Regions from separate parts of the Homo sapiens genome. Here region 1 is linked to region 2. Evidence: promoter capture Hi-C in human tissues and cell types (Jung and others, 2019). All regions are on one chromosome and are shown on one strand. Each heading gives the region's core, a stretch centred on a gene start or on the middle of the fragment in contact. The rest is flanking DNA. Distances are from core to core; before and after follow the strand shown.

The links. Contacts are between HindIII fragments. The study calls those that stand out against the background at their distance.
Region 1: a contact is called between a fragment that was not itself captured here and the fragment with the promoter of LRGUK in region 2, in 1 of the 25 tissues and cell types used here (dorsolateral prefrontal cortex).

The regions. Positions count from the first base shown.
Region 1 is chr7:133,838,383-133,844,301 of GRCh38, forward strand. All of the region lies in intron 11 of EXOC4 (exocyst complex component 4), which reads left to right. Among named protein-coding and RNA genes, the nearest start is that of LRGUK, 290 kb to the right of the region's middle. The HindIII fragment of the contact is 6,032 bases long and covers 771-5,919 here.
Region 2 is chr7:134,126,021-134,128,589 of GRCh38, forward strand. LRGUK (leucine rich repeats and guanylate kinase domain containing) reads left to right here and starts at 1,320. Exons shown (of 20, transcript NM_144648.3): 1 at 1,320-1,644. The coding sequence starts at 1,348. RefSeq lists enhancers at 1,173-1,222, 1,333-1,602. The HindIII fragment of the contact is 8,230 bases long and covers 1-2,569 here.

The DNA of each region.
Region 1 (5,919 bases), core at 2,537-5,036, 290 kb before region 2:
GCAATATTAATGTGTTCCCTAATTTGTAATCCACTTCCTTTTCTCTCATCTTTATAAAAATCTTTGCAAGCAGCCCTCTTCTCTGCTGCCTAATAATAAAATATTGTGAGTCTAGTAATAATCTCACCCCCTTTTTGGTGAGTTTATTTCTCTTTATACCAGTGCTTCTAAAGTTTTAATATTCACTTTCATCACCAGGCACATCTTAAAATGCACATTCTGATCCAGTCAGTCTGGTTGCAGCCTCATGTTTTGCATTTTGAACAAGCACTCAGGTAATAGCTATGCTGCAAGTCCATGGTACTACTTTACAGTAGCAAGGCTGTAGACCAGGAGTCAGCAAAGTTTTTCTGAATAGAGCCAGAAAGTTAATATTTTCAGCCTTGTGGTTTATATCGTCTCTGTTTGATTGTGCCATCGTAGTATAAGAGCAATCATAGATAATATGTAAATGAATGAGCATGGCTGCATTTCAGTACAATTTTATTTACAAAACAATGTGGCAGCTGGATTTGGCTTGCAGGCTGTAGTTTGCCAACCCCTGCTTAGGCAATGTATTTGAAGTGATTTGTTGTTATTTTTAATGTAAAGGTTGTCATCCATATGTCTACATGGGATTGTTTTATAATGGTGTTAGGCATACATACAATGAGTAGAGTTTCATTCATGGTATACCTAGGTATTATGCAAGAAAAATTTTAAGTCAATTAACAAGATACCTTTTTTCCTCTAGAGAACTTAGAATAAGGTGAGAGGCATAATGGCTTAGCTCTATTGTGGCATAATAGTGCCAGCGTTTTGAAAAATCACTTCTTTGGCAAACAGTCGTTTATACTTGTATATTGCTGTGTGCCTGCCTTTCCCCGAACTCTGACTTTTTCCTGCATATGTGCATTTCTTTTATCCCATCCCTTGCCATATCATTTGGCTCTGATCCTATTTGGATAATGAGATAGTTTGTTGTGCCTGCAATGAAGAAAATGATTTTAAATGTTTTTTAATAAGTTAACAGGAGCAAGTCTTGAAATTACTGTAATGAGATAATGACAGTGTAGCATATTGCTTTGAAGATTGTGCTCTGGTGAAAAATGTATGCTCTTAATAAATTCATTTTCACTGTATTTTCCTCAACAAAGTTGTTTAGCATTTGCCTATTTGCCTACCAGTAATAGGGAAATGGTCATAGGAGTTGGTAGTCAATAAAGAATGAAGACCAAAGTTGATACTCAAGTAAGAATTCTTTTGAGCTTTAAGGTATCAGCCATGGAGGACTTGTACCAAGACCGGAATCCTGTAGTGACAGGTGCTTTATAGGAATATTAAAATCCAGAACCTCAGACCACTATGTTAGTTTCATCTTTTTAATTTGTTCATTACTGCAGATCACATGTATTTCCTTTCTTTGAAGTTCTAAGTATTACACTTGAAAGTTTCTAACAGTTCATGCACTTATTTAGCCAACATGTATCATGTGTATATATTCAATCCATAGCACAGTCTCAGACACTGGGGCAACAGAGGTGAAGGAGACCTGAGTCCTGCCCTCAAGTTTATTAGAGAAGGGCAGATATACTAATAAATCAATGTTATATCTGCCATGATCTACACATGTATATGACACATTGGGAGTTCAGGAGACAGTGGTCAGTTCTACCTTGAAGGTCATTTTAAAAAGATTCCATAAAGAAGATGATGCTTAAGCTGAATCTAGAAAGGTAGATAGATTCCAAATAAAGGAAAAAGTATTAACAAAGATATAGTGGCATACCTTATTGAGGGGAATAGATACATTTTCATATATACCTATAATCGAATCTGATACAGCAGTGAGAGTGAATGGATGTACTGCATGTTATACATAGCTTGCATGAATCTAACAGTGTTGAAAGAAGCAAGACACAAAAGAATATGTAAAATTTGATTCTATTCGTAACAGGCAAAATTAAGCTATATAGTATAGGGATGCATATCTAAGTGGTAAAATCATAAAGGATAGCAACAACAACAAAAATCTATTACAAAGGTTACCTCAGATAGGAAGGGAGAAGATTTTGATTGGGCAGGAGAGCACTTGGGATAATGGAAAGTTTTATTTATTATTTTTTATTGTATTTTATTTATTTATTTATTTATTTATTTTGAGATGGAGTCTCGCTCTGTCCCCCAGGCTGGAGTGCAGTGGCGCAATCTCAGCTCACTGCACGATTCTCCTGCCTCAGCCTCTTGAGTAGCTGGGACTACAGGCACGCTCCACCACACCTGGCTATTTTTTGTATTTTTAGTAGAGACGGAGTTTCACCATGTTGGACAGGATGGTCTCCATCTCCTGGCCTCGCGATCCACCTGCCTCAGCCTCCCAAAGTGCTGGGATTACAGGCGTGAGCCACTACGCCTGGCTGGAAACTTTCATTTCCTTACCAAGTTTGTGGTTCCATTGGGTGTTACCTTTATGATTATTAAGATGTGCATTATTACTATAAACTTTGTCTTAAATGTGTTATGTTGTATTTCACAATAAAAGAGATTTTTTAAAAGACAGTGAGGGCCTGAATAAGGCAGTAGGAAATGGAAGAATGGGTATTGTCATAGGCCATTCGGGCTGCCGTAACAAAATACCACAAAATGGGTAGCTCATAAACAACAGAAACTTAATTCTCACTGTTCTGGAGGTGGGGAAGTCCAAGATCAAAGTGCTGGCAGATTTGGTGTCTGATGAGGGCCTATATTCTCATTCATAGTTGGCTGCCTTTTCTCTGGAACCTCACAGGGCGGAAGGGGTGAGGGATCTCTCTGAGGGCACTAATCCCATTTCATGAGGGCACTAATCCCATTCACAAGGGCTCTGCTTTTATAACCTAATCACCTCCCAAAGTCCCCACCTCCTCATACTGTCACCTTGGGGGTTAGGATTTCAACATATGAATTTGGGAAGTGGTTCATAAACATTCAGTACACTGAAGATGTGAAGGGTGGTAAGCATTAGAATCACCTGGCCACTGATAGGAGCTGGGAAGCCAGAGTCTACCATGGTTCCCAGGTTTTTTAATTTGTTGACTAGGAAGATGGCATGTGCTGAGATGGAGAATATAGTATCCACAATGGGCAAGGCTTTTTCTGCTGCAGCTTTTTTTTCCTTTTAGGTCCATTCTTATTCTACAAAGAGGTTATTTTTCCTGCCTCCTTCCTCAGATAGGTACAAATCAGTACCATTTCCACCACAGTCCTGCCAAGAAAACTACTCAGTTCCCCATCTTTATGTATTTATTTCCAGAAAGTTCTTTTTAAACTGTTATTTTAGGTTCAGGGGTACATGTGCAGGTTTGTTATATAGGTAAATTGCATGTTGCAGGGGTTTGATATACAGATTATTTCATCACCCACATAATAAGCATAGTACCCAATAGGTAGTTTCTCAGTCCTCACCCTCTTCCCACCCACCACCCTCAAGTAGGTCCCGGTGTCTGTTTTTCCCTTCTTTGTGTTCATATGTGCTCCATGTTTAGCTCTCACTTATAAGTGAGAACATGCAGTTTTGATTTTCTGTTTCTGAATGAGGTTGCTTAGGATGATGGCCTCTGGCTCCATCCATGTTGCTGCAAAGAACGTGAGTTCATTCTTTTTTAGTATTCCACGGTGTATATGTACCACATTTTCTTTATCCAGTTTACCATTGATGGACATTTAGGTTGATTCCATGTCTTTGCTATTGTGAACAGTGCTGCAATGCACATATGTTTGCATGTGTCTTTATGTTAGAATGATTTATATTCCTTTGGGTATATACTCAGTAACGGGACTGCTGGGTCAAATGGTAATTCTGTTTTAAGTTCTTTGAGAAATCCTCAAACTGTTTTCCATAATGGAAGAACTATTTTACATTTTCATCAGCAGTGTGTAAGTTTTCCCTTTTCTCCACAACCTCACCAGCATCTGTTATTGACTTTTTAGTAGTAGCCATTCTGACTGATGTGAAATAGTATCTCACTGTGATTTTGATTTGCTTTTCTTTAATGATCAGTTGTGCTTAGCATTTTTTCATATGCTTCTTGGCCACATGTATGTGTACTTTCAAAAAGTATCTGTTCATGTCCTTTGCCCACTTCTTAATGGGGTTGATTATTGCTTGTAAATTTGTTTCAGTTCCTAATAGATGCTAGATATTAGACCTTTGTTGAATGCATAGTTTGAAAATATTTTTCCCATAATGTAGGTTGTCTGTTTACTCTGTTGATAGTTTCTTTTGCTATGCAGAAGCTCTTTAGTTTAATTAGGTTCCATTTATTGATTTTTGTTTTCATTGCAATTGCTTCGTTATGAAATCTTTTCCAGGTCCTATGTCCAGAATGGTATTTCCTAGGTTATTTTCCAGGGTTTTTATAGTTTTAGGTTTTATATTTAAGTCTTTAATCCATCTTGAGTTGATTTTTGTGTATGGTATAAATAACGAAGGGGTCCAGTTTCAATCTAATGCACATGGCTAGCCAGTTATCCCAGCACCATTTATCGAATAGGGAGTCCATTCAATAAATGAACAAATTTCTTCATTGCTCATTTTTGTGGATTTTGTCAGTCAGATGGTTGTAGATGTGCAGCATTATTTCTGCTCTCTAATAGGGCTCTCTATTCTGTTCCATTGATCTGTGTGTCTGTTTTGGTACCAGTACCATGCTGTTTTGGTTACCATAGTCTTGTAGTATAGTTTGAAGTTGGGTATTGTGATGCCTCCAGCTTCGTTCTTTTTGCTTAGGATTGCCTTGACTATTTGGGCTCTTTTTTGGTTTCATATGAATTTTTAAATAGTTTTTTTTTCTAATTCTGTGGAAAACGTCATTGGTAGTTTGATAGGAATAGCACTGAATCTGTAAATTGCTTTGGGCAGTATGGCCCTTTCAACAATATTGTTTTTTCCTATCCATGAGCATGGAATGTTTTTCTATTTGTTATGTCATCTCTGATTTCTTTGTGCAGTGTTTTGTGACTTTCATCGTAGAGATCCTTTACCTCCCTGGTTAGCTGTATTCCTAGTATTGTATTCTTTTTGTGGCTATTGTGAATGGAATTGCATTCTTGATTTGGCTGTCACCTTGGATGTTGTTGGTGTATAGGAATACTACTGATTTTTGTACATTGATTTTGTATCCTGAAACTTTGCCAAAGTTGCTTATCAGATCAAGGAGCTTTTGGGCAGAGACTGGAATTTTCTAGGAATAGAATCATAACATCTGAAAACAGGAATAGTTTGACTTCCTCTCTTCCTATTTGGATGCCTTTTCTTTTTTTTTGTCTGATTGCTGTGTCCAGGACTTCCAGTAATATGTTGAATTGGAGTGGTGAGAGAAGGCGTTCTTTTCTTGCTCCAGTTTTCAAGGGGAAGGCTTCCAGCTTTGCTCATTCAGTATGATGTTGGCTGTGGGTTTGTCATAGATGGTTCATATTATTTTGAGTTATGTTCCTTCAGTGCCTACTTTCTTGAGGGTTTTTAACCTGAAGAGATGTTGAATTTTATGGACAGCCTTTTCTGCATCCATTGAGCTAATCATGTGGTTTTTGTTTTTAGTTCTGTTTATGTGATGAACTCACATTTATTTATTTGTGTATGTTGAACCAATCTTGCATCCCAGGGATAAAGCCTGCTTGATCATGGTGGAGTAGCTTTTTGATGTGCTGCTGGATTCAGTTTGCTAGTATTTTGTTGAGGACCTTGGCATCTATATTTTATTAAGGATATTGGCCTTAAGTTTTTTTGTTGTTGTGTCTCTGCCAGGTTTTGGTATCAGAATGATTCTGGCCTCACAGAATGAGTTAGGGAGGAGTCCCTCCTTCTCAATTTTTTGGAATAGAGTGGTACCGGCTCTTCTTTATACATCTGGTAGAATTCAGCTCTGTCAATTTCTGTCAATTGCCTGTGTTGAAATCCAA
Region 2 (2,569 bases), core at 70-2,569:
AAAACGATCGAGATTTGCATTTTTACACTTTCTGCCTGATTCTTCCCTATGTCACTTAGCCGAAGCCAGGCCCTACGAGGGTAAGGGTGGGGAAAATTCCCTTGGAGGAATCTCTACTTATTGGAAAAAGAAATAAGCAAAAAGCAAGATGAGCCTGGCAGAAAGAGATATTTTGCTTGTGGCCTTTACATTTATGACTAGCAAGATAATGAAGGAAGGTAATTCTGAAAGCTTTATGTCAGTTTTAACGGTCCCTCAAGCACTGAGAAAGATAATCGTCAATGGATGGTGTCCATAAGGATTTTTTCTCCTTCTCCCCTGACAGCCATTGACAGGATCATTTTGTATTTGCAACTGCTGTCATTGAAGCGTGCAGAAAAGGCCCTGTAAGGCCAGAAGGATGAGGGCTACTTCCCTGCAAGGATCTCTATTGTCATCACTATGGCAATAATAGTTACTATAATTTTCATTCTGCTTTTCTATAGAGTGTCGACGTTGTGGAGCTTAAGGCTATGGGATTTGGGTCACATAAAATCACACTAGCATAAAATCGTGCTTTGTTATCTTGAAAGAGTATTTTTTTTAACTGCAAAGAGAGCCTGTGCAACAAGATTAAAATAATTGCCAATGCAGGTCACTTGACTAATATAATTATTTATGGGATGCTAATAGCTTTTCAGACGCTTTCAGATACAGTGTCAATTTGACAGCAGTTTTTTCTCTCTCTGTTTGGATTGTAAGACCACTGCCAGTTTTTCTCCCCAAGGACAAGGCTTATCATTGGGGGGTGGGGGTGGGGAATGTAAATTAATTGGAAATCAGCTCTCAGGCGTCGTCTGGTAGTTTCTCTTTATTATCTGCAATTAAATCATAAGGACAGGAACCATGCCTTCTATTTCACTTATATGCACCCTCATCTCCTAGCGTCGCGCTTTGCATAAATTTCAGTGGTACTAGCTTTCCTACAGACTGCTTTAGAGACATTAGACACTTCTAAAGTACGACTCTGCGGAAAGAGCCCTTTGGGAATGAAGCGGCAACGGTGGCGCACCTGCGATCCTATCGTGGGATGACAAAGCTCTAAGAGGGGTCTCAGGGTAGGGAGGAAACAGCTGGAGACAAAGAAAGGGGGTGTAGCGAAAAGAGGTGAAAACAGGAAAGATAAGCGAACAGAACAGACCAAAGAGAGAAAAATAACAGAAGAGACTGAGAAAAAGAAAAGTCAAGTGGAGCGCCCACTGCCCCGCCTGCAGAAGGCGAGTACGCGCGGAGGAGACTACAGGCCCCAGAATCCTCCGCGGTTCCCCTTGCCTGGGGTCAGTCTCCTAGGCAACCCCGCTAAACAAGATGGCGACCTCCGAGAGGGCTCTCCTGAGGACCAGAGCTGCCTCTCTCCTGAGAGGCTTGGGCAGATCCCGAACTGGAGCCCGATCGTTACAGTTTCGCGCAGAAAAAGAGCGTCAGCCTTGCTGGTCTTTTCCCATGGGGCAGAAGACGAAAGGCAGCTCTAACATAGCCTCCTCCTACCTGCTCCAGCAGCTCATGCACCGCTATCAGGAGCTGGACTCGGACGGAGATGAGGACCAGGGCGAGGGCGAGGCGGGATCCGAGGAGTCCTCAGAGTCCGAAATGCTGAATTTGGAGGTGTGTCTTCCCCCCCACCCCGTACTCCCTGGCTCCCTCGTCCAGCCCTGTTACTTCAGCGGCAGCTCCCCGATGCACCCCCACCAGCCCGAAGCTTCCCACACCTTCTCAGGCTCTCTCGCCTCCAGGAACGCCTCTTCCCCCTCTTTTCTTCCCCTGTCTTTTACCCCGTTTTCTCACCCCCTGCCTGAAATAGCTCTAAATAGTTCCTTTCTTTTTTCATTAACACATTTGATTTCTTATGAGTCGAGTTAACACAGCGTCACTTTGTAAGAGTGTCTAGATAATTGTCTGGGAATTATGGCTTTAGCTTTTTCAAAATTATACTTTGACAGTATTGTGAATAGGCAGAGTTCATCTCTGACATTGCCAGCACCTGTTGCCCATGGCTATGACATACTTCCACACTCTTCCTCAGTTCTAGTCCCGTCAGCCTCCCTCCAGGAAAAAAAAAAAAAAAAAAATCCGCTTTTGAAAGTGCTTCTTCAAAGACTAAGTGACTTAAAAGTTGAATACATTACTTCTGTCGGGGGCATATGCCTTATACAAGCAACATGCACACACACCAGAAAAGAGCCTTATAATGTTCGAACAGCCAGCTCATTGTGGGAATATTTTAGGATGTGGGGAATGTTCCCATCATCCCACCCATATTGACTGGGATGGCGGCTTCGCGTTTCACATGACTGCCATTCCCTCCTTTCTACAATATCTCTTCTGACCACCACACAATTCCTCTTCTTTCTTATGCTTATTATGGTCCTTTTCCTTTCTTAGTCCATTGTTGTCTTCTTGTCCTTTTCCACTTCTCATCACATCACTTCTTTTCTCTTGGCTTCTAATAAATTGCTTTCTTTCAAAAGCGTAATTTAATTTGCTTCCTTTCTATTTTGTTTATGTTTTTGAGATGGAGTCTGGCTTTGTC